7 separate regions of the Homo sapiens genome follow, and regions 2, 3, 4, 5, 6 and 7 are each linked to region 1. The links are contacts of gene promoters, found by promoter capture Hi-C in blood cells and fetal thymus (Javierre and others, 2016). All regions are on one chromosome and are shown on one strand. Each heading gives the region's core, a stretch centred on a gene start or on the middle of the fragment in contact. The rest is flanking DNA. Distances are from core to core; before and after follow the strand shown. Region 1 holds the start of ACVR2A (activin A receptor type 2A). Region 2 has its middle 420 kb from the start of ACVR2A. Region 3 has its middle 480 kb from the start of ACVR2A. Region 4 has its middle 500 kb from the start of LINC01911. Region 5 has its middle 440 kb from the start of ACVR2A. Region 6 has its middle 390 kb from the start of ACVR2A. Region 7 has its middle 470 kb from the start of ACVR2A.

Evidence for each region. Contacts are between HindIII fragments. The CHiCAGO score rates a contact against its expected background, and 5 or more counts as called.
Region 2: a fragment that was not itself captured here is called in contact with the fragment with the promoter of ACVR2A in region 1 in 1 of 17 cell types (M1 macrophages); the score reaches 5.0 in M1 macrophages.
Region 3: a fragment that was not itself captured here is called in contact with the fragment with the promoter of ACVR2A in region 1 in 4 of 17 cell types (M1 macrophages, M0 macrophages, naive CD8 T cells and 1 more); the score reaches 5.5 in M1 macrophages.
Region 4: a fragment that was not itself captured here is called in contact with the fragment with the promoter of ACVR2A in region 1 in 2 of 17 cell types (M0 macrophages and activated CD4 T cells); the score reaches 5.5 in M0 macrophages.
Region 5: a contact is called between a fragment that was not itself captured here and the fragment with the promoter of ACVR2A in region 1, in 3 of 17 cell types (M1 macrophages, M2 macrophages and M0 macrophages). The highest score is 5.9, in M1 macrophages.
Region 6: a fragment that was not itself captured here is called in contact with the fragment with the promoter of ACVR2A in region 1 in 3 of 17 cell types (M2 macrophages, M1 macrophages and activated CD4 T cells); the score reaches 7.4 in M2 macrophages.
Region 7: a fragment that was not itself captured here is called in contact with the fragment with the promoter of ACVR2A in region 1 in 1 of 17 cell types (M1 macrophages); the score reaches 6.7 in M1 macrophages.

Annotation. Positions count from the first base shown.
Region 1 is chr2:147,843,553-147,847,294 of GRCh38, reverse strand. ACVR2A (activin A receptor type 2A) reads right to left here and starts at 2,266. Exons shown (of 11, transcript NM_001616.5): 1 at 2,088-2,266. The coding sequence starts at 2,142. RefSeq lists silencers at 1,825-1,904, 2,660-2,769, 2,850-3,039 and an enhancer at 3,166-3,742. The HindIII fragment of the contact is 3,923 bases long and covers 1,042-3,742 here.
Region 2 is chr2:147,421,376-147,425,112 of GRCh38, reverse strand. No RefSeq gene overlaps it. Among named protein-coding and RNA genes, the nearest start is that of ACVR2A, 420 kb to the left of the region's middle. The HindIII fragment of the contact is 5,932 bases long and covers 1-3,737 here.
Region 3 is chr2:147,360,097-147,364,261 of GRCh38, reverse strand. No RefSeq gene overlaps it. Among named protein-coding and RNA genes, the nearest start is that of ACVR2A, 480 kb to the left of the region's middle. The HindIII fragment of the contact is 3,826 bases long and covers 713-4,165 here.
Region 4 is chr2:147,339,250-147,343,296 of GRCh38, reverse strand. No RefSeq gene overlaps it. Among named protein-coding and RNA genes, the nearest start is that of LINC01911, 500 kb to the right of the region's middle. The HindIII fragment of the contact is 4,160 bases long and covers 409-4,047 here.
Region 5 is chr2:147,401,407-147,405,454 of GRCh38, reverse strand. No RefSeq gene overlaps it. Among named protein-coding and RNA genes, the nearest start is that of ACVR2A, 440 kb to the left of the region's middle. The HindIII fragment of the contact is 1,339 bases long and covers 1,120-2,458 here.
Region 6 is chr2:147,449,792-147,454,103 of GRCh38, reverse strand. No RefSeq gene overlaps it. Among named protein-coding and RNA genes, the nearest start is that of ACVR2A, 390 kb to the left of the region's middle. RefSeq lists an enhancer at 4,188-4,312. The HindIII fragment of the contact is 1,701 bases long and covers 1,671-3,371 here.
Region 7 is chr2:147,376,236-147,380,042 of GRCh38, reverse strand. No RefSeq gene overlaps it. Among named protein-coding and RNA genes, the nearest start is that of ACVR2A, 470 kb to the left of the region's middle. The HindIII fragment of the contact is 2,633 bases long and covers 455-3,087 here.

The DNA of each region.
Region 1 (3,742 bases), core at 1,017-3,516:
TATAAATATGGATTAAGGTCTTTATGATTATTTCAATTATCTTCAACAGAATCACATATTTTAGTTCAACTGGGAATGTTCATCTTAAAAAGCCTATGCAACAACATAATATTAGTTTAATATAAGTGGAATATCTATATGCCCTACAGCAACAAAATCACTTTATTTCAAAATTATAGCTATTAACCTCCTGGCCCACTGAAAATAATCCTGGCCCAATGAAAATAATCCCACAAGAAACTAATGCTCAATTATTTTTACTACCAAACCAAGCAGAAGAAGCTGTAAGATCTGTAGCGACAGCCTGCTTTTCAAGAAGTAATACCTTGAGACTGCTCAAGAATAACCTCCTTCATCAATTAGTGTGACTCAGGTGGGTTTGAGAGGGAATAATGTCCACAATTCCTTGGTCAGTGGCCATGATGCCCCTCCTCCTCAAGGGCAAGAGATCAGAACAAGGGATTTGAACAAGAGGAGTTCACCAGCCACAACATATAGAAGCAGAGGAAAAAAGAGTACTACTGGAAAGATAAAAACTACATGGTTAAGTCATGTCACAAAAGCAAGAGGTTTAATGTTATCAAGGCCTTCATTCATTTCAGACACACCATTGTTTAGCTTCCTTCCCAAACCGTGCACAAAAAGAACTGTCAGCCTGCCTTAAGCATGTTCCTTCTTCCATTTAAACAGACATGATTCTTTTGGTTAATCTCTGGCAATGATCGCCATTTCACAACACATTCAGCCCACCCGGAACTGATCAATACCACTACAGACATAAGACTAGACTTTATCCATTTATTAACCACAAGGAAATGTACCATTCAGCAAAATTCTATACATTACAAAAGATTATATTTAAAGGGGGGTGGGGAAGACGGACACAAACACACAAACACACACACACACACCCCACAGAGGTACACAAAGAAGACTACCACCCTTTAATTTTCCTGTGGCAAACGAGATAAAGACATGGCCATGAAACCTGTCAATTCGCCCCCGTTTCCAAGAGTCCCCCGTAATTCTATGCCACAAGCTTGTAACTGAATATTAAATTTTACAATAAATAGATCCAATGAGACTTATTTAAAATGTTTCATCTATTGAACTAACTCTCCTGTTATGTACATCTGCACACCTTTCAGCTAGATGCTGTATTTATTTATAGAATTTCAAATACAAAAGACTAGATAGTTTTTCCAACCACTGGTTGCAACCATAGAACGTCCTCACAAAATCAAAATTTCCAATATAAAATGGCCCGTTTATTCCCCCAACCTTGAGCTAAAACCTATTTTATGAGTGTACTATATTTAACAAAAACAATTTCACATGGGTTGTTCTAAACCGAAAACAATGCTTCAATACAAAGCGTTTAAAATAAGTATTCCGTAGGTAAGCAAAATCTATGCCCCAAAAGAGCACACAAATGGTGGTTGAACGCCAGCACATTACCAATACCAAGCGGCATACCTCTTCTGCACTGGGTTATAGTTAATACTCCAACAACAACTACAACTATTTTTAACACTGCTGGACGCTGAAGTTGAAGAAAACGTGAGGGGAGACCCAGATTAAATTGCTGATAGGATGTATTGTTTCCCACAGCCAAAATTAAGCAGCAACTGGCTTGATCTATGTCGTGATATTCACCGGTGAAGCACTAATTAAACGATGACAAAAAGCAACCCTTGTTTTGGAGGAGCCCACACTAAATACTCCTTTCAGATCTCAACCTTTGCATAAATTGTCACTTGTGGTATTTGCGGCTTAATTGCAACCCAACCAGCGCTGTCATCCAGTGTTATGGCCACAAAACATGACTTTCTCACTTCCACAACAACACAGCACTCACTCTTATCAGCTCGCCGACCCAACTCAAAAAGAGAAAAATGCATGGAGGTTTCCAGATCACAATCAGACCTGGGGGCGGGGGGGGGGGGCGGTGGCAGCCGAGGGGCGCAGGGAGTGGGCAACCTCCCCAGGCTCCACTGGACTCTCCGACTCAACACCAGCCGCGGCCCCCAGCAGCGGCCGCCGCGGCCGCAGGAGCAGCCCCACCGCGCCGCGCTCCCTGCACCTACCTGAAGAACAGGAGATAAGAAAGACGGCAAACGCCAACTTTGCAGCAGCTCCCATTTTCCCGAGGCGCCGGGGAATCCGGAGGAAGTTCTCGCTAGATATCCAGTTCCCTGGGTCTTCCTCGGAGACAAACCTCCTGGTGTAAAATCAACCGTCATAAAACATATTCGGAAGCCCAGACCAAAAAAAAAAAAAAAAAAAAAAAAAAACGCTCACTGGGTTAAAAAAAAAAAAGAAAAAAAAGAGCACAACGATAAAAAATAAAATGCACCACGGGGGAAAAACCGCCACACACACGCACAACACACAAAACCAAACAACGAAAAGCCAACAACAACAAAAGCGGGTTTAAATCACTGTCAAAATCACTGTCAGCTCCGCTCGCCTCTCCCGTCTCTCGGAACAAAACGCCAGGCTGAGGCGACGAAGAGGCGGCGGCGGCAGCGGCGTCCGCTGCCGCCCGGACAGTCTGGGAACTGACTGGGTCCGATGTCCGGACCGACCTTCAACCCAGACACCTAAAGTCCGAGGACCACTGGCGGCCGAGCTCGCGGCGGTGGCGGCGAGGCGGCTGCGGCGCGGGGAAGGGGCGGCGGGCGGCAGCGGCGGCGGCGGTGCAGGCGGCGGCCAAGTTCTGGTCCAGGCTCTGGCTCCAGCTCCGGGCTCCGGGCTCGGCCGCGTTTTCGGTCTCCTGGCCTCCGCCGGGCTCCGCCCCCCAAACTTCCGGTTCCGGCCCGAAGCTGGAAGCCAGGCGCAGCGGAGGAACGCTCGGCGGCAGCGGCGGCGGCGGCGGCGGCGGCAGCGGCGGCCGGGCGCAGCGCGCGTGCCGGGCCGGGAGCGCGAGGAGATTGTCGGGGAAGCGAGGCGGGAGCGGGGGAGGGGTGAGAGAGCGAGGGCGGGGCGGAGTGGAGGGCGAGGAGGCGGGGCGGACGGAGGCTCGATACCGCGAGGCCTCGGCGTCCGGCCTGCTTGGGCTAGAGATACCGCGACAAAGGGGCGCGGGCGCCTCAAAGTCCCTAAGCTGTGGCTGGGCTGTGGCCGGGCGAGTAGATGCGGGCTAGGCCGGGCACGACCCGTTTCCAAATCGCGTCCGACGGGCCTGTCTGGAGCGCCCACCCAAAGGGTCAGGAGAAGCCCAAGAGGAAGAGGACCCCGAGGTGGGGCGAGTGGCCAGGGACTTCTCCAAGGGGCGTCTGCGGCGCCCAGTCTTTCCTCTGGGGGGACGCCTCGTCCGCTCTGATACCGAGGAGTCGGTGGAAGGCGGACGTGGGAGCTGTTTCGCCGCGCCCGCCGAGCTGCCCAGGCGAGCTCGCGACGCGCGAGCTGGTGTGTGCGCCCCCAGACTTAGCACTGCGTCCCACCGCTGCAGCTTCTGCACACGCGTGCTGTCTTGGTGACTAGAAAAGAAAAAGAAAAAACTCACGGAGGAAGGGCTGTCCACCCGCTCAGGATATTCACGCCATTTATCACGATGCGCAACTTGAATCCATTCCCGCCGTTCCTTTTACACACAAAGCATTGTGTTGAAAACTGTTTTGCACGTAATAGGTGCGCAAATACTTGTTTACTGCGCTTTGAAGAAAAAAATGAGGATTTCGAACGACATATTTGATGATCAGACAAGTGATTACTTGTCAAAATTTTAGCTATTTAAGGG
Region 2 (3,737 bases), core at 235-2,734, 420 kb after region 1:
GGGAAACCTGAAAAACAATTCAATAAACTTAAAAATTTAGAGTGGCCAAGCTAAACAGGTTGAGATTACGGATAAAAACCAACCAAGCTGACACAAGACAGGGAATAATTATGTACATACAAAGGAAGTAGACATGACTGAATGTGAGTCAGCAGCCTAGTGCTGTTATTAAAAGTGCAAACATGATTCTAGGATGTATTAATAGATGTAAGACATGCAGAAGCCATGGGGTAATCTGCCTATTTTGACTTGGCATTGCTTGAGATCTTGTTGAAGAGCTGTGTATTTTTTGGTGCTCCATATTTATTAGAAGTTACTAAGAAATTGAGGAGGGTCTGGCTGGTGGATACAAAAATGGTTAAAGACATCAAATATATCTGCTATGAGGAGAGTTTAAACCTGTTGTGATATTTTCGCTCTGGAGAAGAAACTTGAGAGTATTAAATAAGCATAGAGTTTATAGTGCTTTTCAGCACACTGTGTAAGTATATGATGAATATAAGATAATGCCATTAACTCATAGAACTGAAGTACTCTTGAGAAGGTATATGATGCATGTGCCTTCCTGCAGGAAGCTGAGTGCTTAAGGCTTTCAAAATAGACAGTTTTCAATCCCTCTTGGAAAGTTGCATAACCTTGCTAAGTAATCATTCAGAGTTTTATCACTCAAGAAGTCAAACGACTCTTTTTCCTAAACCCAAATCTCTTCCTCTTTGATTTTGACAATATTCTCTGATTTTGGTCTATCACTGACGGGGAGAACTTGAATATCCTTTATATTAACTTCTTAGTATATCTCAAATCACTAGTCATCTCCTTGCTGTGATTTTGACATCTCTTTCCTAGCCTAAAATTCTCTAACTTCCCCTTCCTTAGGTACTCTTTGTAATTCTTTTCTGAAATTTCTCCCTGATATCCATACTCTGTGAGAGTGAGATTGATGACTTAAATGGGATATAATAATCTAAAGGTGTCTGACTTGTTAAAAAAAAAAAAGAAAACCCAAAATAAAAAAAAATTCGTATACAACTTTGGTTAACTATACTTCTCATTTTTTCCTTTAAAAATTCCTTTTCACCTTTTTTTTTTCCTTAAGAAGCTGCCTATCATTTATACAGTAACATTTAATTTCCATTTTGTAGGAATAGTTTTCATCTAGTAAAGAAAATTTTGAATCTGATTTTCCCGTCATAGTATTAGCATACATTTTGTGAATAGAGCATTGCTGCCCTTGTTCAGGTGTGGGTTAGACAACCTACTAGGAAGAGTACCAGCGCTGAGTCTTAGGGAGCTTACTAAAGGCAGCACTCCAGACTGGTGCAGAGGCAGCAATAACTATTCTTCAATATAGTCTTCAAACCAGGCGTCCCTTCACTCAATAGTGATAAGGTAAATTGCAAGATGAATGGGATAGAGTGAAAATTTTTTTTCATCATCACACTAAACCATCTTTTATTTTTTTCTTGTCTATGTGGGCTACTAACTAACCTAGTTGCCAACCTAAAATTGAGTACTTAGTAACACTATCTTACAACTGTTTCTCAACAATAAAGGGAAATAGAAACATTTTTGTATTTAAAAAATGGCAGGGTTTCAGCAATGTAATTAAATGATTGCGCCAATAAAAAGAAAGAACTGGTGGGCGGTAATGGGTAAACATGTATCAATAAAGTCTCATAAAATAATCATAATAATAGCAACTGATTTGTAGAATAAAAGAAAAAAACATTTTACTTTTAAAATACTGGACAACAATAATATGTGGATTAGGAGTCTTTAAAATGGGTTTAAAGTCCTTGTATTGTTCAGGAAAAGGATTAAGATATTAATTTATGTTGGAGTTTATTAAGCATACACAATAAAATTTCAAAGGTGAAAAATAAAATAACAAGAACAGAGTACATAATTTTTAAACTGGTAGTGGGAGCCAGGCATGATGGCTCATACTTGTAATCTCAGCACTTTAGGAGGCTGAGGCGGGCAGATCACCTGAGGTCAGGAGTTTGAGACCAGCCTGGCCAACATGGCAAAACCCTGTCTCTACTACAAACACAAAAATTAGCTGAGTGTGGTGGCGGGCACCTGTAATCCCAGCTACTCCAGAGACTGAGGCAGGAGAATTGCTTGAACCCCGGGGGCAGGGGTTGCAGTGAGCCAAGATCACACCACTGCATTCCAGCCTGTGAAACAAGAGCGAGATTCCATCTCAATAAAATAAAAATAAAAATAAATAAAATAAATAAAAATAAACTAGGAATGGGAAAAACATTAAATTATAAACAAAAGGCCACAGATAATAGTAACAATAATCATAAAGGTAAGAGTAATGCCATTTTTTCCTTTAAAAATTCGTTTTCACCTTTTTTTCCTCCTTAAGAAGCTGCCTATCATTTATACACTTAACATCTAATTTCCATTTTTGTAGGAATAGTTTTCATCTAGTAAAGAAAATTTACTAGATGAAAATCAGGCATACGAGTCTATGAGAATTGAGGAGCTTTCACAGAGGAGGTGGTGTTTAAGCTGAATTTTGAAACAAATGAAGATAGGGCTGGGGAAAGTGCATTTTATGCAGAATGTACAAAAAAAGAGCGAAAGTATAGACAGCAATAAGACTTTATGGGATTTGGGGAGCTGCAAGAAGTTCAGTGTGGCTGGAATTAGGTTTCAGTAGCCTAGTCTGGAAAACTAGGTGGAAACTAGACCATAAAGTAAGAGCCATGCAGGCCATGGTTGGGACCTGGGACTTTATCCCATGGGTTCCTGAGAGAGCCTCTGGAAGAATCTAGACCCTTGTTACCTTTTTACTTGGACTGAAATAACAGCAATGGGGCTAGAGCAAAGGACAATTATATGTGGCATGTTATGGAGGTGAAATCAATGGGAGTACATGATGTGCAGATGAGAAGGAAGGGAAACTGACCAGGGAACAAGGTTTACAGCTTGGAAGATTGCATGTGGTTATGCCATTTATTGAAAGAGATGCTATAGTAGATCTTAGTTTGAGGAAAACGATTGTGAGAATAGTTTTAAAAGTTTGCATTTTATAAGGACACCCAGATAGAAGTGTCTAGTTGGAAATATAGCTGTATTTAACAGTAAAATTAAAATAGATGGTTGTCTGCCATGAAATGTTGCGTCTACACAGATCTACACTCAAGGGCAATGGCTCCTTAAATATTAGAGAAATCAAGGTTTTAATACCTAAATATTCCTAAAGAGGAGCATGAGCTTGAAAAACAGTTGTTTAATAAAAACCGGCCTAACATAGAGGGCTTTCTCCAAATTTGTTTTACAGGTGCCTCTGGATGGATTCTACCAATATGTACTGCATGAATATTTTTCATATCTCACATTGGCTAAAAGTTGAGCACTATTCTATTTCCTCGCATTTTCCTAAGATTTCACACCAGGCTGTATTCATGGTACCATGTTCTTTGCATGCCTATATTTTATTTTTGTTAAAGGGAGAATAAATAGATAACAGGTCTTTTGAGGTCATAGAAAATTCAGACATTTTTTGAGTTTGTTTTGGAAGGCAAAAAGTTGGCAATCACACACATCACACAAACACATACAGATGCACACACACACACACACACACATGCACACACATCTTGTGCCTTCTGTTCTGACAATGTATCTTGCCCAGCTCCATCCCACTGCCAGCAGCCTGGAACTTAGTGAGCTGGTGAGTGGAGTCAAGGACACTGTCTTTTAAGCAAGTCTGCAACTTG
Region 3 (4,165 bases), core at 1,376-3,875, 480 kb after region 1:
AATATTCATTTCTATAGAAATCTCAAATTTCTGGCAAATAAAACTGATTTGTCAGCTTTTAATTATAATAGAAAATTCCCTTTTAAAATTAAGTTTAAAAAGATAATCACTTTAAAGATAAGTATTAGAGGAATTATTAATAGTACAGCTGGTATGTTAGGAGTACAACATCCATGAGGCTTGGTTTGTGAATGACATTTAGGAAGCATTGACTCATAAGGGCCATGGCAGAGTGGACCTAGAGAAAAAATAATTGTGAACTTCTTAATTTTAAAATTTTGTTGTGAATCTATAGGCAACAGATATTATGTGGAGATTATCAATTTGACTCAACATGGTCCCTGACAACTTGAGCTCCTAAAAAATGTAATTATTAGAAGTAATGTTATCAACTTAAAGCCCACAATATGAATTTCAAAAAGAGCAAGAGGTCATAACTGACTATGGGCTTTTAATGTTGGTTCTTGATTTGTCTGTTGAGTACTTGAAACTAATTCTAAAATATTGAGCTGTGAGAGCTCATTTGGTTTCCTGATTTACTGCCTCTAAATCCATTCATCTCTATGCCTAAAGCTAATATTGTTTTCCTACCCCAAATTCAACTGTGTAATTCCCCGAGCATCTTTCTGAAGTCACAAATAATAAAGTGCAAGTACTACTATTTATTAATTAGAAGAGAAGATTTATAGAGAAGAAAGTAGTAATGCAAGCTTTGCATTTCTTTATTCACTTAAATAGTTTTAAAATATTTTTATTTTGGGAGAGATACTCATATTGAACAAACATTAAAGATGATGCAGTGTAGTCACCACTTCCACTGTGGAGAGTATGTTATTAACAGGATATCAAATACATTGTTACGGTTGGCTGGAAAAAGCATGGACTTTGGAGTTGAAAAAATGTGGGTGTAATCCTTAGTGTTTCCTACTTCTTTTTTTTTTTTTCTCCTTTTTTTAGATGGAGTCTTGCTCTGTCGCCAGGCTGGAGTGCTGTGGCGCAATCTCGGCTCACTGCAACCTCAGACTCCCTGGTTCAAGTGATTCTCCTGCCTCAGCCTCCCTAGTAGCTGGGATTACAGGCATGCGCCATCACTCCCAGCTAATTTTTGTATTTTTAGTAGAGACGAGGTTTCACCATGCTGGCCATGATAGTCTCGATCTCCTGACCTCGTGATCCACCCGCCTCAGCCTCCCAAAGTGCTGGGATTACAGGCGTGAGCCACCTTGCCTGGCCAGTGTTTCCTACTTCTAACTGTGTGATCATGTGTATATCACCTCTAAGTCACAATGGGAAAAATAACACTTGTTTTAAAAGGCTGTTGTAGGATCAACTTAGAAAAGGTAGCAAAAGTGGTTGGGATGTAAGTTGCGTGCTTTTCCCTTTTCCTTTTCCTAGATGTGGAATCACTCAATTTGGCAATTAATTTTATGCTCATCTATTATTTTCTTTTCTTTAATTGCTTCTCAGTTCTGCCTCTATAAATTCATTATGATGAGGATAATATCTTACTGTTCACATTATCTGCAGTGTTGGGCTCAGAATCAGTGCTCATTATCCACAGGTTGATGAGAGGAGGATAAGGTGGCCATGTTAGAAAGCAGTTTTCTCATAGTTTTGTGGACTAGAAGGGGCTTTCTGAAATCTCTCAGAGCAGTTCTCTACTTCTGGCTACTTTTGGCATGCATCATGGCAGCTTGCAGTGAAACATTCTTAGGGAGATATCCTTGTAAGGCAAAGAAATTCACCAATATTTATTGGTACAGTGGCGAAGAGTTTGGCTCATCTATGGAGGAGAGGTCAACTACATATTTTTGGTAATGGCTGGAATAAAATCAGCATTCAAAACCATTCATCTTTTAACCATCACTTTGGTGGGGGAAAGGCAAGGTGACTGGGCTGTAGAAAGAGTTGATCTCTATTGTAATCTGAAGTTCTAAAGTCACCTGGTAGTTAAACTTCAATTCACTAGGATTTTAAGAATAAGAAACACTTACTGAAATGACTTCAGAAGAGATTGTCTAGATTTACTAACTTCATGTGAACTTAAAGTCAGTTACAGGGTCTAATGGTTCAGAATAGTCATGTAACTTGTTCCAGACTTACCACATTCTATTCTGTATTCATTTAGACAAATCATTTTATCCTGTTCATAGTGGTTCATCTACCAAATATATCTGCAACAAATAGAGCTGTTATAATTTCACAAATGAATGACATAAGAACTTTTCTCGCATCTTGCAGGTTGGTATGAACACTAAAATAAATGTTTATAAAAAATTACAAAATAAAATTCTATTGCCAAAGAATTATGTGTCATAGTGTTTCCTAGTAGACCATTTCTCCATAAGGGTAGGAACTACATCTACTGTTTTAACTTTAGTGCCTTAACAATGCCCAGCACTTAGTAGGCACTGACTACTGTCAGGTGAATAAATAAAGGAATGAAGTAACAGATGCTGAAGCACCTGAAGTGAGTGGCTCTTGGTAGATATTTTCCTCTGAGAATTTGTTGGTTAGTATGTATTCAGAATTTGGAGCTGCTTATGTCTCAGGGATACAAGTTCATTTTGGGCCAGAGTGGTCAAATCAGAAGTACCCAAAACTTAAGATTAATCAATTGTTTTCCATCTGGCAAATTTTCATGAATGAGTAGGACCTTTGGGAGGGATTAAGGAATTGACTGGACCATTTAAATCAGCAGATCCAATAATGCATACTGTGTATCGAACAGTGCCCCAGATATTAGCTGGCTAATAGATATGGACTGACTGGGGCACCCTAGTCCTAGATAGTTTGAAGGTACAGAGGAATGTACTTCCGGGGCCCAGCTATTCTAACATAGCTTAGTAGGAAAGATCTGGTTCAAATGGATCATGCCTCATATGGCATATTTAGATGCCACCTGGAAAAACTCCAACCACCTGAATTCAAATTCTGGTTTTACTACTTTCTAGCTATGTGATCTTGGAAAATTTGCTATACTTTTGTGCCTCATGTCCCTTAGCTGAAAAGTTGTGACAAATTTTAATTTTTCTGCCTCCCTCATAGTTTTTATAAAGATAAAATGAAATAATCTATGTAAAACATTTATTAGTCTGCCTGGTATATAATTATAGCTCAGTAAGTGTTAGAAGCTATTATTATTATTAATATTAGTACTGCCTCATTGAGGTATAAAACCAAGTTGTTAAGGTATTTGGTGAGTATAAAATGAGTTTCAACTCTTTTTGGAAACCAAGGTATGTCATGTGGCTCCATAATCAATGGGTTTCTGGTTAGTCTCTTTCATTACAGTATAGGTTCCTTACAAACTCACCTGCCAGATTTTAATTGCCTTTGACTTCCACTCATCCAGTATAGTGATTGTCACATGGTAGGTTTTCAATAAATATTTGGTGAATGAGAATGAGTGAAACTTACACAAAGCTGCAGAGTGTTTATGTACCATAAAAAATGCCCACGGTCATATTTAGTGTTGGGTTTTGTTCTATGATAAGATTTCAGAAGTCTTTAGAAATTTTCTTTAAAATGTTTTTGTTTAAAAGTAAGATAAATTAAAATAAATCTCCCTAAAATATAATTGGCCATGTTTATTTTTAGAAAAGAAACTACTACTGTGTTTGGATAGGAACAATCTGTACTTCTCCATAAATATGTCACATTTTTGAACTACCAAGAAAAAAAACAATAGAAAGAAAAATTCAATCTCCTGTTGTTTCAAATTCCATCCAATTTAGAGATTTTGTTTTTGTTTTTTTTTTTGTTTTTACCACTCCTGGTGTCAGCTGGGATGCAGTGCTGGGTGATACACATGGATGAGGCCAGGTCTGGGTGTGAACCAATCTGCAGTTAGTGTATAATATCAAAATGCATTTACTCTTCATCCTCGCCCACTCTATCTGTGCCTGGTGGGTTAAATGTAAAAAACTGTGGAACCCAACATAGGCCAATTCTTCTGGGTTACCTGCTGTTATTAGCTAGTTTATATGTACTTGCACATATTTTCTCTGAATCCTCGGAGATAATAATTTCAGACACTCCCTTAGTGTGCCTGTCTTAGATTTCCTTCACATTCTGTCACAGGAGGAGCCACCTGATTCTGAACCTTTTTTCAGGGTTTGGATAAGTTTGATGCCTCCCACTGTTCTTGCTGCTGCTCAGATGA
Region 4 (4,047 bases), core at 1,239-3,738, 500 kb after region 1:
CACACACACAATTCCAGATGAACTGAACTTTAATGTCAATGACAAAGCTTTACAACTTTTAATTGATAAGAGAATATCTTCATGACCTTGGATAGTGAAGGATTTCTTAAATAAGTCTCAAAAAGTATAATTGTATAGGGAAAATTAATTAATTCATCTAGATTAAAATGAAGAATTTATGTTTATCAAAGACATCATAAAATAGTGACCAGGCAATTCATAAAGAAGACATGTAAGTATATTAAACTAACACAAAGTTAGTGCCCTGAATATATACAGATCAGCTATCAATCAGTAAGAAAAATAGTCCCTTTTAAAATACCTTTTAAAAAATGAGTAAAAGACCTGAATGACCATTTTACACAGGGACAAAATGATGGTCAACAGACACGAAAATATTCTTAAGCTTACACAATATAAAGGAAACACAATTGAAAACCACAGTGAGATACTTCATTTCATACTCCCTGTAATGGTAACAATTAAAGTGCTTGATAGTGTCACTTGCTACCAAGAATGTGGAGCAATGGGGGCACTCACATATTGTTACTGGGTTTAAAAATTGGAACAATACTTTTGGGAACATAGTGCATTTATCTTATAAAGATGACCATGACTATACCCCTTTGATTATCAAAATAACTCATAACTATGCATATTATGCACACCGGAGAAACTTTTATACAGTAACCACTACCAGGAGATTTGCATATGTACAAGAATATCCAGACCCAGTTAAATGATTACACAATTTGTGCTGTCTTCCTACAGTAGCATTCTCTACTGCAGTGGAAATTAATGAACTGCAGCTGCACACATCAATCTGGATGAATCTCTAAAGCATGATTTTGAGAAAGGAATCTTAAAATGATACATATGGAATGATTGCATTATATGAATCCTAAAACAGCCAAAATCAAATAGTGGATTAAGAAAGCATATTTATGTGTCAGTGTGCTTGCACACTTACATATGTGTATATGATAAAACTATAAAGAAAGGTAAGGAATGAAATCGAGTGGGGGCATATACTGGGTGGGTAATACAATAATATTTTGATAAAGATGTCCTGGCATGAAAATTCCAGAGGAGTTAACTAAAACACTAGTGGGAAATGGGTGAAAAGGGAAGAAATATTTCACTTTTCAAATTACCAAGTGTCAAAGAAAAAGTACTTTTCTGGATCAAAACAAACAGACAACAAAATAAAATGAAACAACAATGACAACACACACCTAATGTTTAAAAATACAAGCTACAAATATGAAATAACAAGTAAATCCAAAATTATGTCAGAATAACAATGTCAATTCAACTATAAAGAAAATAAAGTTAGGCCAGGTGCCGTGGCTCATGCCTGTAATCCCAGCACTTTGGGAGGCTGAGGTGGGTGGATCAGCTGAGGTCGAGTTCGAGACCAGCCTGGCCAACACGGCAAAACCGCATCTCTACTAAAAATACAAATTTAGGCGGGCATGGTGGCGGGTGCCTATAATTCCAGCTACTTGAGAGGCTGAGGCAGAATTGCTTGAACTCGGGAGGCGGAGGTTGCAATGAGCTGAGATTGCACCACTGCACTCCAGCAAGACTCTGTCTCTAAATAAATAAATAAATAAAGTTGCCTAATTTAAGAAACAACAGGAAGAAAGCAGACGACTAGATTTGTTAAAAACAAAACAAAGAAAAAAAGTGAAACCCATCTCTACACAGAATGTAAGAGACCTACTTTTAAAAGCCACTTAGAAAGATGAAGGAAAAGGTGAGAATGTATGTTCAAGTCCAATGAAATCAAAATTTCAGGGTTAGGAAAGATTATTTCATATAAATAAATGCAAAGCAAACAATGTTACATGCAAAAGAGGATGTTTAAGGAAATTGCCCACAATAGAGATATAACGATCCTGATCTTTTAGTATAAACAACAGGATAATATAACATTTTTCTGTATGGATATTGGAAAATCATCATACTAATGCAGCTTCTCAATTATGGCATCTCAAAAAATTATCAAAGGAGTTAACTTGTAGAATTACCTTATTGGCAGGCTTTATATTAGAGTGGTTTTTTCTGGATCAGCCAACCTTAAGATTTATGATCTTAAAAAATAAAAATACTTTACTTTGTAACCTGGAAAATAAGGGACCAAATTTCAAATTAAATGCAGCCACATCTGCTGCTATTTTGATCATTTTCATAACCAATCATTTTATTTTTTTTGGTGGGGGTGGCTCAGACTAGTTTTCACTGGGTTTCTATCACTTGCAATAAAAGGAATCCTAAGAAACGCATATAGCAGCTGGATATGGATATCTTGTAAATCAACTGGATATGCACTCGCCTGGTAAAATACCCTAAGACATTGCAATATCTACAACAGTTCTTAACAAAGGCTCAATATCTGAAATATAATCTAGTAAGTAAATTCAGGCAGTAATATATCAATTATTGGTAAAGGTATATTTTCAATATAGTATTTGTGTACAAGTTATTTGTTTGTTTTTGTCAGAGTGGTTGAGGCTAATCATAGTGATTACCCAGTTAATACTCCAGGAACTGGCTTGTGAATCATTTTATTTCCAAACAGGTCCCTTGTTTGAATAGAAGACAAGACAAACAGTTCAAGGAAAGCAAAGTGCTTTTCAGAAAGAACTTAAAATGGTTCTTGGGATTTATACTATTAGAATAGCCAGTTAACAGAAATGTATAAAATGTTATTAAAATGTTCACCAAAGAAACAGAAGCATATGAAGGAGAGATAATATAATTGCAATTGGATTCGGTGATTTCAAAATCAACTAGGAATTTTTAAAATTTTGGTGGGCAGTGGATGAAGATGTTCTAAGATATTTAACGAAGTGAGGTGTTTTTCATCCAGCCACTATACACAAATAGTATAGTCCATATACTATTTGTGCAGAAACTCACCTTTAATGGTAGGATAAGACATCACACAATGTGTTTGAAACACTTCTGCTGAATCTATGGTAGGAATTTACAGTCAGTTCTCATCTCACAGCTTGTAAAACTTGACTTTGCTTATCATAATATCTTATTACCCATAAATCCCGATGAGGCACAGGCCATCATCATTCACTGAAGAACATTTTTAGTTAAGTGCCTTCATTCAGAATGGCAGTTACTACCTGTTCCAGCCTTGCACAGGTTATGATTATTAAGTTCTTCTATCTGCAGACATAACTCGGTGCATTCCCTCAGCTGACCTTAGCCACACATTGCAACCCGTTAGGTGTCAGTGTAGGGTTTGCATTTAGTTTTGCTGCCCTGAAACTATCATCCAGTCACTCCTGATCATCAGTATATTTAGTAAGCCAAATCCTTTTCTTACTAGCCCTATAATTTACCTACTTTCTATAGCTAGGCATCTGCAGGACTCTTCAGAATCCTTTGGCTGGGGCCCGGCCTGTCTCCCTAGACCTTTTTCTCTGTGAGAGGAGACCAGGTCTTTATGGCTCCAACTAATTTTGGGTTACTATTTCAATTCAAATCAACTGACTCCCTTACTCTGGCAACAAGATAGTCATTCCTACCTGAGTTTGCATTACTTTGTCAGAGTCTATTGTCATGTGCCAACCCATTAGCTTATACCCTTTACACATTTATACCCATCAAAATCAGAGCTGAAAGGGCCAGGTTGTTTGTGAATTGGGAAGCTGGATACTTACAGCCATTAGTTTGAAACCTAGCCTCAGCCTTTTCTTCCTACTGTTCTCCATTGAACTGTTGTTGAAATCTAGACATGCTTTGAGGCCAATTATGACATCTGATTCCACTGCTTTTGATGCCAAGTCTATGGCCTATATCTGTGATATTCTGACTATGAAATTAGCAGAAGGCAAATGGGGAAATACTTCAGAAATTTGATGTTCTTTTGACACATTAATACTTTATTTAGAAAAATCAAAGCAAAATTAGAATTTGCAATGTTATTTTTTAAAGATTGAATCGAATCAAAGAAGCTAGCTGCTAGCTTCCCTAAGATATAATTCATGTAATCTGTAATATACATTTATTAAAAATAGATTAAGC
Region 5 (4,048 bases), core at 540-3,039, 440 kb after region 1:
ATTAATATTTCTCTTTATATATATGCTTTGTTGTCAAGTCTAAAAACACTTTGCCAAGACCTGGAGCCCAAATATTTTCTCCTGTAATTTTTTCCCCCAAATTTTATACTTGTACAATTTACCTTTAAGTCTGTGATGCATTTTGAGTTAATCTGTGTAAGGTGCAAGGTTACGCAAATTTGTATAAGTGTGAGGTGTAAGGTTTATGACAAGATTACTATTATTTTTGCCTATGAATGTCCAGTTGTTCTGGCACCTTTTGTTGAAAAGACTCCATTGGTTGTTGCTTCTTTGTCAAAATTCAATTGGACATATTTGTGTTGATCTCTTTATGGTTTCTCTCTTCTGTTCTATTGATCTGTGTGTAGATTGCTCCATTAGTATCACACAGTCTTGACTACTGCAGCCAGACAAAAAGTCTTAAAATCAGGTAGACTCTTTACTCTTCCATTATTTTTCTTTTGCAATTTGTTTTTAACTATTCCACTTCTTTAGCCTTTTCATATTATTTTTTGAATAATCTTGTCTATATCTATGAAAAATGAGCAAGGATTTTAATAGGAATTGCATTACACTTGCATATAAATTTGTGGAAAACTAATATTTTTACTATGTAAAGTCTTTTTATCCTTAAACACAGTATATCTCTCCTGTTCTTTAGATCATTGATTTCTTCCATCAGCATTGTTTTAAATATTTCATTGACATACATTTAGAACCATATCAGACAGTGTTATAATTTTGGTTCAATTGTCAAACATGATTTGGGAAAATTTTAAAAAGGAAAGTATATTGCATTTATCCATATTTTTATTTACAAAGTTCTTCCTTCTTGTTTCGAGGATTCTACTTTTATCATTTATTTTCTGTTAAGAGAATTTTCTTTAGCCATTCTTTTAGGACAGGTCTGCTGAAGACAAATTCTCTTAGTTTTACTTCATCTGAGAATGTCTTGAGTTCCCCTTATTGCTGAAGGATATTTTCTCTGCATACATTATTCTTGGTTGATAGTTGTTTTCTTTCAGTATTCGAAAAACTGTGCCACTTCCTTCTGGCTTTCATAGTTTTTGATAAGAAATCCATTGTCTCTGATTTATTATTTTTTAATATAGGTAAGCTTTTGTCTCTATCTCATTACTTTTAGGATTTCTTTGTCTTTGTTTATAGAATTTTGACTATGATGTTTTGTAGTGTGATTTCATAGTATTTCTCCTGCTTTGGGTTTGCTTAGCTTCTTAAATCTGTAGGCTATGTCTCTTGCAAAATTTGGGAAATTTTCAGCTATTACTTCTTTGAGGTTGTCAGTTTCTTAGGTCCAACTCTGGAATATATGAGGCATAAAGAAAACCCAGGGAACTTATCACCATGTTGTTTCTTGAGTCCTGAAGGTCCTATTCAGTGTGTCTTCTTCTTTCCATTTTTTAGTTCACTAATGTTTGTCTTACAGTCCAGAACTTTTAGTTGTACTTAGTGAGAGGAATAAGAAAATGCATCTTTATTCCATATTATCAGAATCTATATAAGTTTTCTAGTTGTATCTCTTGAATATTTATTGCACATAGGACTACCTGTTCCTTAATACTTTGCAAGAGTTTTCTAATGAAATTAGTTGGCTGATTAACAAAAAATAAATCCGAAAGAATTTATTTCTCAAAATGTTAAAGATAATTTATAATGAAGATTATATCTGAATTGGTCTTGAAAAACTGAAATTCACAGGATAAAAACTGGTTAAATCCTTTCAGGTGTAAAGAACAGTAGGAGTCATCATACTAAAGAGCATCTTATAAAAGTTAAGGTAAGACAAGAGTAGATTGAAAATAAGATTTTAAATTCCCAAATCTTAAATGCTTGTACACCGTTGGTGGGAATAGACATTAGGTCAGCCACTGTGGAAAGCAAGTTGGAGATCTCTCAAATAACTTAAAACAGAACTACCATTCAATCTAGCAACCTCATTACTTAGTATATACCCAAAGGAAAATAAATTGTTCTACCAAAAAGACACATACAGTTGTATGTTCATCACAGCACTATTCACAATAGCAAATATATGGAGTCAATCTAGATGCCCATAAGTGAAGGACTGGATAAAGGAAATGTGGTACATACATATCATGGAATACTGTGCAGCCATAAAACATGAAATTATGTCCTTTGCAGTAACAGGATGCACCTGGAGGCCATTATCCTAAGCAAATTCACACAGAAATAGAAACCCAAATACTGCCTAGTCTCACTTATAAGCAGGAGCCAAACACTGGGTACACATTGATATAAAGATAGGGACAATAAGTACTGGGGACTACCAGAACAGAGAGGGAGGGAGAAGAGTGAGGGCTGAAAAACTACCTAGTGGGTACTATGCTTAGTACCTGGTGACAGGACCAGTTGTACCCCAAGCCTCAGTGTTATAGAATATACCCATGTAACAAATCTGCAATCTAAAACAAAAGCTTAAATTATCTTTAAAAATTCCAAATAATGTTATAAAAATAAACAAATCTTTATAATGAGAGAAGAATAGAGGTTTTTTTTTTTCTGGCAGTATAGTAGATGAGCAATTTTCAGATGTTTTGTAGTGGGATAATTTTTTTACATAGCCATATCTAAAATTGACAAAGAAAGAAGCAAAGATTTTTTTTTCCATTTCCCCCCTTTTTCATCAAGAAGGAAAATATTTTCCAGAAACGCTCCCTCTCAGCAGATTTTTATTTGTATTCTGTTGGTCAAAATTGGGTCAAAGGGCCATGTCCTTAAACCTATCACTGACAAAGACAATGCACTGACCATTTTATTAACTGTCTTCCCCTCCCCCAAGTTTTCTTTTTTTCTAATTTCTTTTTACTTAAAAATTTTATTTTACTTAAATTGCATAGAGAAAGGGTCTCACTATGTTGATCAGGCTGGTCTGTAACTCCTGGGCTCAAGCAATCCTCTTATCTCAGCCTCCCAAAGTGCTGGGATTACAGGTATGCACTACTGTGCTTAGTCCCCAATTTTCACTGTATATTCTTCTATAGAAAAATATGTAATTCTTCAATTATAAAAATATTACATATTTTTATAGACTATTTGGTAAATATAAAAGAACATGGGAAAAAATAAAAATCAGCCATAATGCCATAACTAATAGATATTTCTGATAATTTTTAGCTAACTTCAAATTGGATTTTATTTATTCGCCTTTAATGTGTTATGTTTTCAATACTTCTGTAGGCACATGCATATTTCACTGATCTCAGTCCTCACCACTGGTAATTTTACAGCACGTTGTTTTCATTTCTGAGCTCTTAATTTGATTGATATTTTGAGTGGCTGAAATGTGCACCCATATACACACATACTCTTAAAGAATGGCATATGGGTAATGTATTTTCCAAGCTCTTGAATGTTTAAGAATATTTGTGTGTTTCATTCATTAATATGTTCATTCCTGTAACAATTATTTATTGAACATCCTCTATGTACCTGGCACAATGTTAAATATTAGACTTATAAGGGTTAATAGGACAGATATGGCCCATGCCCTCTTGGAGCTTATAATTTACTAGGTAGCAGATATTTAAAACGTAAAGGATATGAAGACAAAAAGGAGAGATAAGGGTGATTATATTGGTATGTAATTCAGAAGGAACAACACAACAACCTAGTTTGAGGATCAGCGAACGTTTTTACTTTAAAAAAATTGCATTAGACTGAGACCTGAAATTTTAGCAGAAATGCAGAGTAGGAGGAAGAATATTCTGAGTAACAGAAACTCCATGAATGACGCATTGAGGTAGGAGCAGATGGCAAATTTGAGAGGCTGAAAGAGGACCAGTATACTTAAAACACTGAAAGTGAAGAGGAGTGGGACATATAAATCCTATAAAGAGTGGGTAAAAACTCAGTTGTGGATGGTGGATGGCCATGTGAATTACTGTTGGAATTTGGTACATTGTTATAAGGGCAATGAAAATCCTTGAGAAGTTTTAATATGGAGATACGATTATGCATTTCAAATAGATTACTCTAGATATTAAATTTACTTTCAAAATTCTGTATG
Region 6 (4,312 bases), core at 1,272-3,771, 390 kb after region 1:
ATCTCTTCAGTTGCTAAATCATTATGACTTAGATTAAGAATGATAGAAATATTTTTTAGCATCATTACTGACTTGCAAGTGGACTGAAAGAATTAAAGATGCACAGAAAAACATCTTTACCCCTTAATTAAAAAGAAGCCCTTTTGGATCCAAGGAAATAGGAAAATAAAACTAACATCCTGGAAAGTATAATGGGAGAATGTTAAATGATGTCTGCCAAAATTTCTCCTTGTGTTACCCCACTTGTAATGCCAAAGGCCAATTACAACTTGTTTTGTGGTAAGGGATGTGTCTGATTTAAACAATAGAAGATTATAGTAGAATGCTGAGAATTTTCACAATTAAAAAAAGCAATGTTTCCAGGTATTTGCAATGCAACAGAATTCTTCTCTCCAAAGGTTTAAACTTGTACACTTTATACAATGCCGTCTTTGTTTCTTTTCTTCTTCTCCTTTTCTCTCTGTGTCTTTCTCCTTGCCTCTCTATCTCTGTCTCTCTCTCTTTTTAGTTCCCTGATTGGTTGCTAAATTCCTTTAAAGTTCTAAGCTATGTATCATTAAGGACTGATAGTAAAAAACAACATTGAAAATGGTTTTGATTCTGGTTAGAAAAATACCCCTGGAGAAGATATTTTACCAAATAATATTGCTGTTTTGCAGAAGATTCAGTTTTGTCTTTTGTCTGCTCAAGTTCTTGTGCACCTTTCCCAATGCAAAAGGAAATAAATACACTTCTCTTAAGTATCACTCCTCCAAGGAGAATATGTTGGTTTAAATGGAGGAGGCAACTGTGGCTGAATAATATTTCTCAGCATCATTTGTGTGATACAAGGATGTTCCCTCCCATGTAGAGGATGTAAAGGAAGTGGCAGACTGTGTTTCCCTCTAGATCAGGCCAGCCAGGCTCTTACTGTATCCATGATAGTCTCCTTTCATGACTATACTAGGAATACCCCTTTCTTAGGATCCTATACTAATCCCTGTGGCCTACTAAGATAAGAACATACCAAGTTGTCAAATCTCCCCAATTCTCTGGTTACTTCTTCTCCTATGTTCATTTCTGGGATTGAAGTTGGAATAGGGCTAAGAGTTATGTTTCTTATCTTTATCTAAATGGCTCTTGAATGGTAGCCTGATTTTTCTCCCTAAATCACAAAATGAAATTACTTCTTAGTTGCTTTCTTCTTGTCTGGGGAACATAGTTCTAATGAAGTTCTCCAATAAACAATCAACAAAGAAGATTATAGTAGAATATAGTGTATATAGTGACCTCCTTCAAATGAATTACCCTCATTCTTCTTGCTCTTTATATTTCTCCAATATTATCATCTCCTTGAGAACTGGGAATGTGTCTTGCTCATTTTTGTATAATATTCTATATAATGTTCAATAATATTTATTGTAATGGAAGTTTCACAAGGTTCCACAAGGTCAGTTGCTTTTGGAATCCTGCTAATTCTGCCTTTCCTTCCTTCCTTCCTTCCTTCCTTCCTTCCTTCCTTCCTTCCTTCCTTCCTTCCTTCCTTCCTCTAAAGGTTTAACTGGCAGTTTACCTGGACCAATGTAGTTTAGATTCACCTTGAGAGCAGATCACCATCTGTGCCCTCTGAGCAAAAATTAGACCCAGATGAGGAAAGAGTTGATTAAAGTTGTTACTGGACAGGTAAAGCTTCAAATCACTTGCTGTCATTTCACAGCACATGAAAAATGTTTGCAGTTTTCTTTTCAACCTCCAGCCTGACACATGAGCCCACTTAAAGTCATTAGTGTATCACTGACACACTCTTTTTCAAGCACTTTAAACTGTGATAATGTTCCAGTGGCTGAAGTGGGAATTTGACTCATGGCTCATTAGTTGTCTTATTACAACATGCATGTTATCATAATCTGCTTTTGCCAAGTGTGTTGTTTGACGTTTTGTCCCAGAATTCCTCTCATGTCCCACCATGTCACCAGTGGGATATGACAACTCTGCTGAATTTTGCTAAGAGGGTAAACAAACTTGCTCTCCCTACAGATGGGTCACAGGTTGGTACACAGGGTGCACAAAGCAGCCTAAGGTAGCTGAAGGATTTAGAAGAGGACATAATTGAAAACAAAAACAACGGGCTTTTAGTATTGTCTTGCTACTTTACTAATTACTTAACTGTTATAACTCCTCCGTGACTTTTTTTCCACATCTTTACTTCTCACAGAAAAGACAACCAGAAAACTTTTTTTTTTAAAAGATGGACTGTTACATGTAGCACTGGAATTGTTGAGAGTAGCATTTCCGCCTAGATTTCTTGAATGTAAACTTCTTTTTACACTGATTGAAGAACTGTTGATTTTTTCTGCTGTGGGATGTAAGCAAGGAGCATATTGCCCTGAAGGGAGACTTAGGTGATGAGCTAACTCGTTTCCCAGAATTCCGTAGACTATATCATCATATCCCACTCTCAAATTCTCTCATCGTCTTCTTCAGAGGGAGAGGCTGGGGAGAGATGACTCTAGCCTAGGATGTGGATTGAGTCCCTGAGATTTATAGTAATCAAAATATTAATGAAGTAGTCGATACAAATGCTGTTTGTGTAGAATGCCTAAGTAACTGGTTGTGTAATATATCAGGAAGAGATCCAGATATGAGCAGAGGCAGAGCATAATAAATCAGGTCATTTGTTTTGCAATAATGGAATGATAATTGTGATAATTTCAGAAGTCACTATCATCCTGCAGCGTGAAAGAATCTTTTTGCTGGCTTCCCATTGTTTAAATATTCATGTGATGTCTGTGAGTGACTTCCTGCTGAGAAAAATCTTTGCATATCTCCGGCTGGCACAAGAACTAGAAATTGTGCTTTGCTTTAGCCTGGGAAGGTTTTGCAGGAACCTGAGTGCTCTCATGGTTTAGGGGGAATGTTCCTCAAAGAACAATTCCTTCAGTGAAATAAAGGCCCATGTTACTGAATTATTTTCCAAATGCCTTCTCCTAGCCAGCAGCTGTGTGAATTTATAGGCACTCACCTCTGCCCTTTTGCACTGAATGATGAGGCAGAGGCAAAAATAGCCATGCTAGCTTGTAACACAGTTATGCTATAGAAATATAAACATAGCTAATGACCCCAGAGAAGAAAATCCACAGTTGCTGTCACCTGCGCTTGCTTTCCCTCCTTCCCTCCCCCAGCTTCTCCGCATTCTGTTCTTGGTATGGATGAATGGGGCTGTTTTAATTGAGCTATCTAAATTTGGCAGGCCATACATCCCACTGTCTCATATCCCAGGACTTAGGTCCACCTGTTGCCATTATCCCCCCAACTCACACAGTGGGAGGTAGACAACACATGCTTGCAAATTCCTTTTCAGTATAAAACCCCAAAAGAATGGCAGTGAAGCTTTTAGAATTACTTGAGTACTGCAATGAATATGGATGTGGGTTTTTGCAATGGGGGTCATTTTAGAATGAATAATACTGTATAATTGCTTTCAGTAAATTGTATCATCAGTATGTATATTAGTTTGTATATAGATAGTGTATATTAGAATGTACTAGGATTGGTATTCTGAAGGTGTTTGGAGTTTTCACATTAGGCAAAATTCTGAAGTGACTGACTGAGGGGAAAATAGTAACGATAAAGAGGCAACAGTCCTTTTCTAAGAACTCAAGTGCTATGTGTTCATTGTTTTGTTGATCCTCCTAATTCTTATCTAGCATTAGGAAAGAATCACAATTCTCTTTTAAGGAGAAAAAAAAAAACAGGGGCAGATGGAAGAAAAGTGCAAGCCCAGGATTTTACAAGAATTAAAGGTAGAGCCAGCATCTCTTTATCTCTGATAGAATTCTGACTGCCAACTGAGTTTCCTTCCTTTAAGAGTTAATGGCCTCTAATGGCAGTTTGATTTGGAGGTGATTATGCATCTAAACTACCTGATTAAAAAATACATTTCCAAATGTGGCTGATTACCTATTTACATATTGCTAGGGTTTAGGTGAAATTGTGAAGTTTAGTAGGGTGGTGATTTTCTGAGAAACTCTGCTATGTGCTGAAGTGAATTCTGTTTTTAGCTTCGTGGTTAGATTGGGCATCAGTTAATGTTTAAATTGATAGTCATTTTTCCACTAAGTTAAAGGAACCAGTCCTGCATATATTCTTTCAATCAAGATAAAAGCAATGACAGCATTTTCTGGGTTGGGCGGAGGCTGGTTGGTTGGGGCTGCGTAGGGGGAGGGCTCTGGTAAAATCATCAAGACCAAGGTGAAATCCACAGCGTTTGTTTAGCACAGATCTGTAGATTACAGTGAGCTGTACAATGACATTTGGATCCACTTAATAGACT
Region 7 (3,807 bases), core at 522-3,021, 470 kb after region 1:
TACTTTTCTATAATTTTTATCACTTCTCTGCATGCCATAGCACAGCATGTTTTGTCTATTATGCTCATTTCTAAAAACATTTTGATGAATTATTAATGACTGAAAGGATTCCCATGTAAACAGCTGTGCATCTGTCCATCTATCCACCCATCCTCTTTTCATCTACTCATTTATGTACTAGGAAATGTGCTAACATGTAGAAAAAGCTAGAAAAGCCTCAAAATGATTATTCTCATTGACTCACGAAACTAATGAAAGACATAGGCAAAAAAGTAAACAATTAGCTTGATGTGGTAAGGCTGCTAATTTAGTCTAGGTTTTGTGAAGATGAAGTGGTAGAAGTGTTAATAGAAAGGAGACATTGGGGGATAGTAAGTTGCAGCTGAGCTGTGTTTTGAAGTATAATTAGGAGTTATCAAAGTGAAAGGCAGATAGGAGGATAGAAGCTGAAGCTTATATAAAAGCACAAAGTTCTGAGAGAGCACGTGATATGTGGGGAGGTGTAATGTACATCATTTAATATATCTGGAACATAGTGTATAGGCGAGAGCTGTTAAATATGAGAGATACAAGCAGGCAGCAGATCATGAAAGCTCTCATGAGCTCAGAGTGTTTACACTTTTCACAAAACTTGTTGGAAAACCACTAATGGGTTTTGAGCAGAGTAGAGTGATCAAATATGTATTCTAGAAGGACTTCTCTCAGGGTTGTGGAGAATGGATATATAGAGAAAACAAAACCTGCAGTGGAGACATTAGACTGTGACTGAATGAGAGCAGGGTGTGTTCAAGGTCTTGGAGATACCTTAAACAGTGTCTGGCACATGGTAATTCCTCAATATGTATTTGTTGAATAGAGGAATAAATGCACAGATCATGCAATACATTTTTTAGGTAATTTCAGTAAGAAATGATGAAGGCCTGAACTAAGGTATTGGTAATGGAGAAGGATAAAAAGCAGATCATTTAGATCAGTGCTTTCTAAACTTTTCTAATCATGACCTATCTTAAGAAATAGACATACATGACTCCATATACAGAGCCCCCATCAGAAACTAATGTTTTTACTGAACAATATTTACTTCCACTACCTGTGATGTACTCTAATTTCTATCCTGTATTATGCTATGCCATGCTACACTATTTGTATTAGTTTGCTAGAGCTGCTGAAACAAATACAGTAGACCTGGTGGCTTAAACAGAGTACATTTGTTTTCTCACAGTTCTGGAGATAGAAGTCCAAGATCGAGGTGCTGGCAGGATTGGTGTCTTCTGTGGGCCATGAGAGAAGGATCTGTTCCAGGCCATTCTCCTTGTCTTATGATCATCTTTTCCTTGTATCTTATGATGATTTTTTCCTGTGTATGTCTGTATTCCTAATTTCCTCTTCTTATCAGGGCACCAGTCATAATAGGATTAGGACCTACCCATATGACTCATTTTCTCTTAATTACCTCTTTAAAGACCCTATCTTCAAATATAGCTACATTCTGAGGTACTGGGGGTTAGGAAGTCAATATATGAATTCTGTGATGACTCAATTCAGCCCATGATACACAATTTTTTTTTTTTGACACAGGGTCTTGCTCTGTTGCCCAGGCTGGAGTGCAGTGGCATGATCATAGCTCACTACAACCTTGAACTTCTGGGTTCAAGTAATCCTTTTACCTCGGTCTCCTGAGTAACTGGGACTATAAGTGTAAGCCACCATGCCCAGCTCCTATTTTACATATATATATATATATATATATATATATATATATATATATATATATATATATATATGTATTTTTTTTTTTTTGAGATGGAGTCTTGCTCTGTCGCCCAGGCTGGAGTGCAGTGGCATGAACTCGGCTCACTGCAAGCTCCGCCTCTTGGGTTCACCCCATTCTCCTGCCTCAGCCTCCCGAGTAGCTGGGACTACAGGCACCCGCCATCATGCCCAGCTAATTTTTTTTTTTTTTTTTTGTATTTTTAGTAGAGACAGGGTTTCACCGTGTTAGCCAGGATGGTCTCGATCTCCTGACTTCATGATCCGCCTGCCTCGGCCTCTCAAAGTGCTGGGATTACAGGCATGAGCCACCGCGCCTGGCCGCCCAGCTTCTATTATATATTTTTTTAACCAACCAAAGTTTGTAATGTACGTTGGGGTTCACTCTTTGTGGTGTACATTCTATAGGTTTTTAAAAAGTGGATAATTATATATACCTACTTTTATAGCATTATACAGAATGGTTTCACTGGTGTAAAAATCCCCTGTGTACTATTTATTCCTCCATCTCTCCAAACCACTGGCAACCACTGATCTTTTTACTGTCTCCATAGTTTTGCCTTTTCCAGAAGGCCATATAGTTGGAATCACATAGTATGCAGCCTTTTCAGATTAGCTTCATTCACTTAGTAATATTTTCTTTTTAAAATGCTGTTCCTATCCTGTTAAATTGCTTTCATGACAAACTAAAGATTGCTGTCTTCTATTTGGGAAAACTTGGTTTAATGGGATAGGAAAGAGGTAGAACTGGAAGCTCTTGGTGACTGTTAAACTATGGGGAGGAAGAGAAGAGGGGTCTGGAACTCAGAAGACAGTCTGTGATGAGCATTTGGCTGGCACACAGGTGATAATTGATGTCTGAGGTGTAGTTGAGTCCACCCAGAAAGTGAAGAGAAGGTGAAAATTGAAGAGTTGAGGAACCTAGAGAAAGTCAATCCCATAGGTGTCAAACTTTGTCTTAGGTTTAATTTTGAGTTGAACACCTTTAGCTATGTTAGTTTGCAAATATTTTGTTTTTCTTGTGAACCATTTATATCTTGTGTAAACGTTTCTATTGGTTTGTTGATCTTCTCATCAATTTGTGAGAAACCTTGATGTCTTAAAGAAAATATCTCATTGACAGATGTTTTCAAGTATTTCTTCCTTGTGTTTTGACTTTGTTTATGATATTAATTGCTATGAAGAATGTTTAATTTTATATGCAGTTTTATGTCTTTCAAATTTTATGATATGCATAGCAAAACCTTCTCCACTTTAATATTATATAAAGAGCAATCTGGTTTTTATTGTACTTTTATTCATTTATTTGTTTAAGCTTTATATTTAGAAATTTGATTATTTTGAAATGTTTGCAGGTGGGGTAAGATAGGGATGCAATTTTCTTTCTGTGTGTATCACCTGGCAATTGTGCTAGCATTCTTTATTAAGTAACTTCTTTTTTATTCTCTGAGTTTTCAATGATATATTTATCACATACCTGTAGTAATACATGATATATATTATCTTCATCATTATTATCCCTCATCCATATGCATTTTTATAGACATCTTGACTAATTTATTTTCTTTGAAAAATGCATTAGTGAATGATCTTTAAAATAAATTTTCAGATACAATCTGCTATTTAAAAACCCACACCCTAAATGAATAAGTCCCCAAATGAATACCTCAGAAATTTGATTGGGACCATGATAAAATTAGAAATTAACTTAGAAAAGTTGCCTTCTTTAAACTACTGAGTCACCATATTCAAGATAAATTTATTGGCCATCCATGTAGTTTAGGGCCATGGTGGTGGCTGAGCTAACGTCTGCAAAAATCTCCTTCCTCAACCATAAGAAAAACATAAGCAAATTCTATGCAAGACCATGTCTTTAGCATAACTTGAAGACAGAGTATGAGAAAACTGCAGAATAACCAGTGTGAATAGCAAAAAATGAATGAATTTTCAAATACACACACACACACACACACACACATGCACACACACTTTACCTCATCCTATAACAGAAGTTTAATACAAATTGAAATAATTGCT